Linked DNA regions of Homo sapiens: region 1 is linked to region 2. Evidence: promoter capture Hi-C in human tissues and cell types (Jung and others, 2019). All regions are on one chromosome and are shown on one strand. Each heading gives the region's core, a stretch centred on a gene start or on the middle of the fragment in contact. The rest is flanking DNA. Distances are from core to core; before and after follow the strand shown.

Region 1 (4,938 bases), core at 2,352-4,851, 290 kb before region 2:
AAGTGAGCCGAGATTGCACCACTGCACTCCAATTTGGGCAACAGTGAGACTGTCTTCAAAAAAAAAAAAGGGTAGAAAAAAATAAAAATTAAAAAAAAAATTTTTTTTTGAGACGGAGTCTTGCTCCATCCAGGCTGGATGAAGTCCAATGGCACATGGCTCACAGCAACCTCCACCTCCCAGGTTCAAGCAATTCTACCGCCTCAGCCTCTGGAGCAGCTGGGACTACAGGCACGCGCCACCACACCAGGCTCATTTTTGTATTTTTAGTAGAGACGGGGTTTCACCATGTTGGTTAGGTTAGTCTCGAACTCCCGACCTCGTGACCCGCCCGCCTCCGCCTCCCAAAGTGCTGGGATTACAGACATGAGCCACAGTGCCCAGTCACAAAAGAAAATTTTTAAGGAGCATCTTTGAGAAACTTAAAAAATGTCAAGTAAACTCAGCAGGAAATATCAGCATAAGTGGTTTACATTAAAATTGTAAAAACTAATCTGATAAATTTGATTCTTTGAGTTAGTAAAAAAAGGATCCTATTCCTAAATACTTGATAGTTGGGGCAAAATTACTTCAAAATCTACCACAAAGATTACATGGTGATATTCCCTACATGTCCTCCCTCTCTTTGCCTTCCTTCAGGTTGTATCTCCACTCTTTGGAAAAAACGGCTGCTTCTAAAATCTATCAGAGATCTACTAACTTACCAGTCAACACCATGGGTACCATAACACTTAGCTTTTAAGAACGCTCCATTTACTCAAAATAACAACTAAGAGCTCCATTTACTCAAAATAACAACTAAGAATGAACGGGTATTTGCTGACATACAGGTTTCTCACAAGGAAAAATAAAGACAGATGTGCTTAAGGGCAGAGAACTTTACAATCTGTAAATGCCTGCAGACTGCTTCTTTAGAGCAGGCATTAACCCTTGCTAATATACTTAACCACCCCCACCCCCCAACCCCACAAAGTGTCTTATTAACAAAGGAAATCTTAACAATAAATCATCATTTAAAAAAAAAAAAAAGAGGACTGGGAAATCAACAATTCAAAGCTAACATTTTAGAAGTAAAGGCTTCATGCCGGGCGGGGTGGCTCACGCCTGCAATCCCAGCACTTTGGGAGGCAGGCGGATCACGGGGTCAGGAGATCAAGACCATCCCGGCTAACACAGTGAAACCCCATCTCTACTGAAAAATACAAAAAATTAGCCGGGCGTGGTGGTGGGTGCCTGTAGTGCCAGCTACTCGGGAGGCTGAGCCAGGAGAATGGCGTGAACCCGGGAGGCGGAGCTTGCAGTGAGCCGAGATCAGGCCACTGCACTCCAGCCTGGGCGACAGAACAAGACTCCATCTCAAAAAAAAAAAAAAAAAAAAAAAAAAAAAGAAGGCTTCACTTCAGACCACTCCAAACCTTCAAGAAAGGTTTGTACTTTCTACACATATTTTATACTTAAGAGGGTAGATACCGGGACCAGTTCCCATCACAATACAAGTACATATTGAAATAAACCTATTAGTCTACATGTTCTCACACCATCACACCATTTCTCCCCATACAATAAAAGTCACTCAGGCTAATACTAAGAGAGACACTCCTGGTGATCACTACATAGACTGCACTAGTAACCAGGAAAGGGAAGCAGAGGTGTTATTGTTGTTCCAATATAGTTCTAAAGGCAACTCCATGTGACTACTGCTGATCCAGCCCACATTTAAAGGGAGGACAGAGGAAACCAGAGCAGCAGGAAACAGGCAAGAGAGGCAATTACCACAACCCTTTCCCATGGCCTCATTCTCTCCCATGCCACCACTTTCGGGCATATTTCAATCACAACAAAAACCTTCCTTCTCTGAAAGGTTTCATAATTATTGAGGGTGAGAGGCAACAGGGAAGCAAATGGGGGAAATCAGCGCTGTGGGAAAATCTCTCGTCACACGTATCAACTAGCCATAAGTAGGAAAATCAGGAGTATGCTGGCAGCAAGCAAAAGGGCAGTTTGGGAAACTAATCACTTCTGCCTAATGATAAGAGAAGCCTTCAAAGCAATGGAAGGACAACCCTAGCGAAGGGGCTCCACAGGTGAGTGTATTGAAGGAAACTATCATCTCCAGGGAGTGGAATACATTCCCTTTCCTGAGGTAAAAGGGGAACACACCAATGTAGGATACGGGAGAGCTTAGGTATCATGTTCAACTTCCTTCCACCTTTCACAAACTGGCACTAAAACGGATACACAATTCACAGTGAAAAGTGAGGAATGCAATAACTAGTCGCATACCCCTTGTTGAAAAAAGTGCTGTCACAACGGAAGAGGAATATAAGAACTGGGTTCACCCAAGAAATTATATGCCCTTCAAATAAAAGATAATCTTTGGATACCTTATGGAGACCTGAAAAAACCCTCAACTAGCTGAGCACCGTGGTGCACACTGTAATCCCAGATACTCAGGAGGCTGAGGTGAAAGAATCGCTTAAACCCAGGAGCTGGAGGCCAGCCTGGGCAACATATGGAGACCATATCTCTAAAATTAATAGTAATTTTTTAAAATCTCTCAACTGTTAGGATACACTGGTGCTGTAGAAAGACAATAAGCCTAAATACTGGCAAACCATATACCTTCCTTGAATGTGAGGTAAAAACAATATCCAATAGAAGTGGTAGTAAATGACTGGATTACATCAAACAGGAAATAACAGTAATAATGATGGGATCAACCCCTAAAGCGAGCAAGCATTAGAGACCAGAGTGGTGACAGTTGAGATGCGTGGGCAACTAATTAGACTAAAAACTCAGGGGAAAATGTGGAAAAGCCGAGTGGGAAAGTGATTCAGAGGCAAACAACTGAGTTGTAATGCACCAATGAAAGAATAACATTTTGAGTATGTATTATTAACAGAGAGAGCTTTGCCGTTTACAAAGCGCTCAAAAACCTACATTAAATAATGAACTGTGATATAACCAGACTACAGGAACGGCGGGTGTGGAGGAAAACTGAGTCCCAATTGAGACCAATGCCCTACAGAATTGAAAAGAAGTAGAACTGAACTGTGACTCCGGGTAAGCCAGGAAAGGTTAGAGAGCGCATAAGTTGGGGCTATAACAGGGCCAGTCCCAAGACTAGCTACGGGCGTGAAAGCGGAAAGGTGATGAGATGGGACCGACAGCGTGGCGGGGAAGCTCCAGTCTACTGGCAGGCACCGAGGTGGGAGAGAAAACCACACCCTCCAGGGCAGAAACCCGAAAGGGGGGAGGGGAGGCACCCCTGGGGCTGGGTGGGGCCCAGCCGACCTGGACGGGGGAAAGTAGGAAGAAGCACAGGGCAACGTGAGGGGAAGAGGAAGGAGGGAGCCCGGGCCTGGACGTAGAGGGACCGTGGACCTGGCGAGTGAAGCTCGGCCCGGTCCTCACGGGTGGGCGCCGGGGCAGTCTGCAGGCGGTGGGGTTTCAGACGAGCTGAACCCAGAATTAGAAAGCACACGCTGCAGCGCTCAGGGCCCTGGAAGAGGGAAGGAGAGGGAGAGGATGGCAATTACCGCTGCTGCTCTCGGAGGACCCAAGACCCGCTGCCGCCGCCGCCGCTCGTTACCTGCCAATGTGCCTCTTACAAAGCGGCGGCGGCGGCACAGGCTGCCCAACCCGTCACGTGACCTCGCGTCACGGGCGAAGGAGGAGCCACAACACGTCGCTCGTGCGCGGCTTCAGAGTCAGCCTAGGCGGCGCGCGGCCTCTTCCAGCCACCACCTCCACCCCAACCCCGCGAAGCCAACCGCGTGGAGGTGGGGACCACAGAAAGGAACAAATAAGGGAGACTTGATAATATGTATTGTACTCGGAGTCATCAGGAGAGTATTACCCACCGCATACAAGGTGCCCACAACTGCAGCTCGTCGTCGCGCCGTGATGACCTCACAAAGCACCACAGGTTACTCCCCTGTGGCCGCCCTGTGCTCATCACGTGATGTGGTCCAACCACTCAGGGCAAGCCTGGCCTCCCAAATGTTGCACGAGGGGACCACGACTCCCAACATGCTGCACAGCCAAGGCGACCCCTACCGCAGCCTTTCTCCAGCGGGCTTCTAGACGAACCCCCTAGAGACCTTAGAGCCGAGGGAAGGCCGGGACGGAAAGCGGACTAAGCTGGCTTGAAGGACTAATACCATTGGATGCCGCCCGCCATGTGGCGGAGCGTGGTGCCTGCTGGGAGGTGTAGTCCTGGCGGGGGGTGGGGTTCCGCTCCCACGTTCCTGGGCTCGCTCTGCGCCCTGCCCCCTGCGCGGGAAAACGCCAACGGCTAGCAGCGAGAGCCTCGGCAAGGCGGAAGGTGCGCCCACTTTTAGTCTTTTTCAGTGCGGTTTTACTTTTGCCCTCCCAAGCCCCTTCTGGGTGAAAAGACTAGAATCTACTGAACGCCTACTCCAAGTCAGCCGTTTATTTCTGTTATATCATATAATCAACTCCTTGAGTCCAGGATTTTCCCTATTTAAGGATTTAAAAAAAGAACCTTAGAGTTGTTTGTTGACCGAAGAGACCCAGGTTTTCTGTCTTTAGAAAATTAATGACCTCCTCTCAATAGGATCTGACCTGTTGTCAACTCCAAGAATTACGAATAAATAAGATGATGGTTTATAATTGTAGCATGGTGTTTTAAAGTATTTTCCATTTACTGGCCTGTTTGGATGTGAGGGCGTTCTGGCTATCTTGTCACCCCATAGATCGCCAGGGCTGATTCGGCTGATCTGGCTGTCTAGGCGGGTGGCCCCTTCCTCCCGCACCTCTCCATGTGCGTCCCTCCCGAAGCTGCATATTCGGTCGAAAAGGAGGAGCATCCCCCATAGAAGAGGACAAGTCAAGGATATAGGAGTAGCTGCACGCCCGTGTTAACAAGCTCTCAAGGTCCTCTAAACAAGCTCTCAAGGTCTACTTACTGGCCTG
Region 2 (5,055 bases), core at 364-2,863:
GCTCCTGCTTGTAGTCCTAGCTACCCAGGAGGCTAAGACAGGAAAATTCCTTGAGCCCAGAAGGGATGCAGTGAGCTCTTGAGGCTGCAGTGAGCTGTGATCATACCATTGCCCTCCAGTCTGGATGACACAGAGAGACATTGTCAAAAAAAAAAAAAAAAAAAAAAAAAAAAGGACTGGGAATTTTGAAACTGGAAATGATTTTATAAATCTTGTCTGTCCTCTCTCAGGGCCATTTGTGTCCTAAGCCCTACTCTTTCATGGTGAACAGAGCTATGAAAGGGACAAAAATTATAGACTTTGGAGTTAGACTTACTTGGATTGAAATCCCATCCTTTACAGGCCAGCTATGCCCTTATGCAAGTATTTTAACCTTTTGAAATAATATCAGTGTCCTTGTAAATTAGATATAATAATGCTTCTCTTGAAAGGTTGTTTTGAGCTTTAGAAACAATAGTTGTCAAAAGTCTTGCACAGTATAGCTGGCACAGTATATATAGATGCTTAATTGACAACGCGGCATGAAACACTGTTTCTGCTAAAGGGATATTAGAATATGGAGAACAGGTCAGAGGGAAAATTTGGAGAGCTCTTCCTGTACCTAAAGTTACATTTCTGAGGGCTTTTTACAGTTACTCTGATTAATTTGATGAAAATATTGAAACAAACAGCATAGCCATGTATTTGTAAATTCTTTTTTTGGTACCTAGGTCCCGAACCTCCTAGGCTCTGAGGGAATTGTATTTATGGAGAAAGCCGAGAATATTTTTCCTTAGCTTCTAGAACCTTCTAATGACATTGAAGGTTTTTTTGTTCAGGTTTTTTCTAACCACCTCAGGCACTCTGCCACTTTTTTGAAGTGTGAATTGCCTGCTGTCAGCCTGGAGTTCTCACCTCCGCAATCCTGGCTGCAGGCATATTTGCATATTGGATGCTGTGTTCCTTAACCCCCTGAGGTTTGAATCCACTTGGAGTCTGTGTGTGAAAGCTGGCTACTTTCAAACCCATGAACAGTTTCAGCTTTGTGGTCTCCAGAAAAACAGAAAACCCCCAACAATAGTTCCATTCACTTTTATGTAAATGGCACTCTTCAGGAAAACACTGGGCTATTTCCCAGGGCCCCAGAACATACTCAAACATTTGTTTGAGTGGGAGGTGGGGAGAGAGTTCTTTTGAGTCAATGAACATCTGTTCAGAACTGCTGTGCTGGGTCCCAAGAAAACAGAGCTTATAATCTGTCTCTTCCCTGCCAGAGGTACCAGCAGAGATTTACTATACTAGGTATATGTGCTTGTGGTGGCATTGTACTGTGTCAGTTTAGCTAAGCTGGATTCCCAGTATCCTTCCTATCTGCTTCCAGGTGAGGGTTGTCCACAAGAAAATTTCGTGAGAGATTTGGAAAGCTGAATTGAAGTAGCAGCCAGTACACTGTGAAGGACAGAGCAGGGTCTGTACGCTGTGAAGGACAGAGCAGGGTACCAGGCATAGTGGCAGTACCTGTACTTTCTCTCTGATCTGGCTCACCTTGTTGGTGAAGGTCATCACACAGCCCCCAGCACCCCTAGCTCCTACTGAATTTCCTCCTTCAGCTCCTCTGAGTCCTGGGCCATGTGTGCAGTCAGCTCTGTAGCAGAGGGCTCCGGCTTCTCCAGATCACCTGAGTCACTGAGCTTGGGACCAGTGAAAGGAAGTTGTGGGTTTCAGTTTGTCCTCATGAGTTCCAGTTGTCCTTGTAGATCCCAGTTTGTTCTCAGAGGTTCCAGTTTGTCTTTGTTCTCTTCCACCTCACATCCAGTTTTCTTCCCAACTGCTGGCCTCACAGACTTCGGGCCCAACACCAGGTGCAGAGGCAGCAGAGTTGCATGGATTTATCCACCAACTTCCAAAGATACACAGTGTCTACTCCTTATAATAAATCTTTAGTTTTCTGTCACTCATAGCGTTTGCTTCCCTGATTGAACTTTAAATTTGTTCAAGCCGTGTTAAGGATGCAGAGCATGGAAGTGATTAGAAGCCAGAAAGCTTCACAGAGGAGGTGACATCTGAGCTGCTTCTGACGAGTAGGAGGTTGTGTGTATAGAGTGGGTAGGAGGAATTCTAGAGAATAGCTGGCTCAAGCCAAGCAATTGAAAGAGCAGTGAGGAGTTCTGTATTTCTAGAAGAACTGTTCTTTCCATGGGTCCAGAATATAGATGGAGAATGAGCATCTGATCCTAGCTCTTCTGGCGCCATTGAGATTAACTGTTAGCTGATGTGGTTCTTAGATGTGGTCATCCCTAATACACTGGCATCCACTGAAATACATTCTTGCTAGGGTACACCCTTGTCACTACCCTAAGATTCCTCCCCCACCCCACCGCTGCTTTCCTCTCCCCAGTGGTTCCATGTGGCTAACCCAGGCTTGTCTTTCTTGGCTCCCCATGCAGGCATCTTTGCTTGTCCATGTTGTGTTGATGGTGGCAGTGGTATGGAGTTCCTGTCTTAGGCAGGGCACTGTGCCCTCTAGTCTTGGATCCCTAAGCTTATTTAGGGGTTCTAACATTGATTCCATGGGACCTTCTAGTCTTGGATCCCTAAGCTTATTTAGGGGTTCTAACATTCATTCCATGGGACCCTCTAGTCTTGGATCCCTAAGCTTATTTAGGGGTTCTAACATTCCATGGGACCTGAGGCAGGAGCAAGGTACCCCACATCTATAACTTTCTAATGCTTTTTGAGCATCTTTATAGGGAGGGCATGGGATCAGCTACCTGTTTCTGCCTCAACCACGGACCAATAATATGAGATCTTTGTTCACCAGTTCTACAGTGATGGGGTGCTTCCTTTTGGCTTCTGGAATGGGGTAAGTTCTTGACATAAATAGGGAGTCCAGGAAAATAGAACAATGAAATAGAATAGAAAAATGAAAGCCTACCACTTTATATATGAATTTGTAAACTCAAACAGGGATTTCATTATACATGCTATTCAGAACTGTCTCCTTTTCATGTGTCTAAAAATTTTTCTTACAAGCAGTACATTAGGCTTGACCTAATTTTTTTTTCTTTTTCTTTTGTTTTTGAGACAAGGTCTCACTGTATTGCCCAGGCTGGAGTGCATTGGTGCAAACATGGCTCACTGTAGCCTCAACCTTCCAGGCTCAAGCAATCTTCCCACGTTGGCCTCCCAAGTAGCTGGAAGTACAGGTGCATGCCACCATACCTGGCTAATTTTTTTTCTATTTTTTGAGAGACAAGGTCTCACTGTGTTGTCCGGACTGGTCTCAAACTCCTGGGCTCAGGCAATCCTCCTGCCTCAGCCTCCCAGAATGCTGGGATTAAAGGCTCGAGCCACTGAACCCAGCCTCGACCTCATTTTTTTTAATGACTTCATGCTATTTCATCATATAGATATACTGTACTTTTTGCCTATTCCCATATTGATGGATATTTGTTTCTGGCTCTTTTCCTTTTTGATATTGCAAACAAAGTTGTAGTGAACATTGTTATATGTACATCTTTTTTTTTTTTTTTTTTTTGAGACAGAGTTTCGCTCTTGTTGCCCAGGCTGGAATTCAGTGGCCCCGTCTCGGCTCACCACAACCTCCACCTCCCGGGTTCAAGTGATTCTTCTGCCTCAGCCTCCCAAGTAGCTGGGATTACAGGCGTGTGCCATCACGCCTGGATAATTTTTGTATTTTTAGTAGAGACGGGGTTTCTCCATGTTAGTCAGGCTGGTCTTGAACTCCTGACCTCAGGTGATCTACCCGCCTTGGCCTCCCAAAGTGCTGGGATTACAGGCATGAGCCACTGTGCCCGGCCCGTTGTGTGTACATCTTAAACCTATATTTCTTATGTGAGAGTGGCTAGAAATGGAATTGCTGGCTCTTAGGGAATGTGCATTTTATGTTTTGATAATTATTATCAAATGGCCCTCCTAAGGGGATATGCTAATTTACTTTTCTACCAACAGTATATGAGAGCACAGACCATTTCAGAAATCCCCTTTGAGATTATTTCCAGTCCTTAAAAACTTTTGTTACAGGTTTAGAAAAGCTTGGAAAGGTCTTGGTGTTGGGTGTTTGGTTTTTGGTGAGAAACCGCTATTCTCTAGAGTAACATTACCATCTGTTGGCAGTCTTGAGAATTGCCCTGGAGTAGGTTTCTGTTTGGGCCTGATTTTTATGCCTTTGATAGCTGCAAATTCATCTTGATTGAGCACCAGCAAAGGGACTGTGGAGGATAGCAGCTCCTGCTCCAGCTGCCCTCTCTGCATCAGCTGTGCAACCCCCGGGCACCAGCAATGTCAGGCAATGGTGGCATGTGCCTGTATTGCCAGCTGCTCAGGAGGCTAAGGGGGGAGGACCACTTCTTTTTTTGAGACAGAGTCTCACTCTGTCGCCAAGCTGGAGTGCAGTGGCCCGATCTCGGCTCACCACAACCGTAACCTCCGCCTCCCGGGTTCAAGCAATTCTCCTGCCTCAGCCTCCCGAGTAGCTGGGATTACAGGTGTGTGCCACCACACCCGGCTAATTTTTGTATTTTTAGTAGAGACAGGGTTTCACCATGTTGGCCAGGATGGTCTCAATCTCTTGACCTCGTGATCCACCCAGGGAGAGGACCACTTCTGTTTGGGAGTTTGAGGCCAGTCTAGGCAACATAGTAAGTCCCTGTTTCTTAAAAAAAAAAAAAAAAAAAAAAAAAAGGATAAAATAAAAGACTAAAAAAAATCAGACTGGGCATGGTGGCTCATGTCTATAATCCCAACACATTGGGAGGCTGAGGTAGGTGGATCACTTCAGCCCAGAAGTTCAGGATCAGCCTGGGCAATATAGTGAGACCCTGTCTCTAAAAAAAAAAAAAAAAAAAAAAAAAAAAAATTGGCCAGGCATGGTGGTGGCATGCCTGTAGTCCCAGCTACTTGAGAGGTTGAGGTGGGAGGTTTGCTTGAGCCTGGGAGGTCAAGGCTGCAGTGAGCCATGATCACACCATTGCACTCCAGCCTGGTCAACAGTGCTAGACCCTGTCTCAAAAAAAAAAAAAAACTCAACGAAATATTTTTTTCTATATGAAGTTA

Evidence for each region. The method cuts DNA at HindIII sites, captures the fragments that hold promoters and counts their contacts. A contact is called where the count stands out against the background at its distance.
Region 1: the fragment with the promoter of UBAP2 here is called in contact with a fragment that was not itself captured in region 2 in 1 of the 25 tissues and cell types used here (dorsolateral prefrontal cortex).

Annotation. Positions count from the first base shown.
Region 1 is chr9:34,045,286-34,050,223 of GRCh38, forward strand. UBAP2 (ubiquitin associated protein 2) reads right to left here and starts at 3,602. Exons shown (of 29, transcript NM_001370062.2): 1 at 3,540-3,602. It also overlaps the pseudogene RN7SKP114. RefSeq lists enhancers at 2,712-3,568, 3,569-4,424, 3,705-4,234, 4,425-4,938 and silencers at 3,385-3,434, 3,585-3,674. The HindIII fragment of the contact is 41,306 bases long and covers 1-4,938 here.
Region 2 is chr9:34,333,500-34,338,554 of GRCh38, forward strand. NUDT2 (nudix hydrolase 2) reads left to right here. Exons shown (of 5, transcript NM_001161.5): 2 at 2,730-2,842. It also overlaps a transcript of KIF24 not described here. Among named protein-coding and RNA genes, the nearest start is that of NUDT2, 6.5 kb to the left of the region's middle. The HindIII fragment of the contact is 3,442 bases long and covers 1-3,334 here.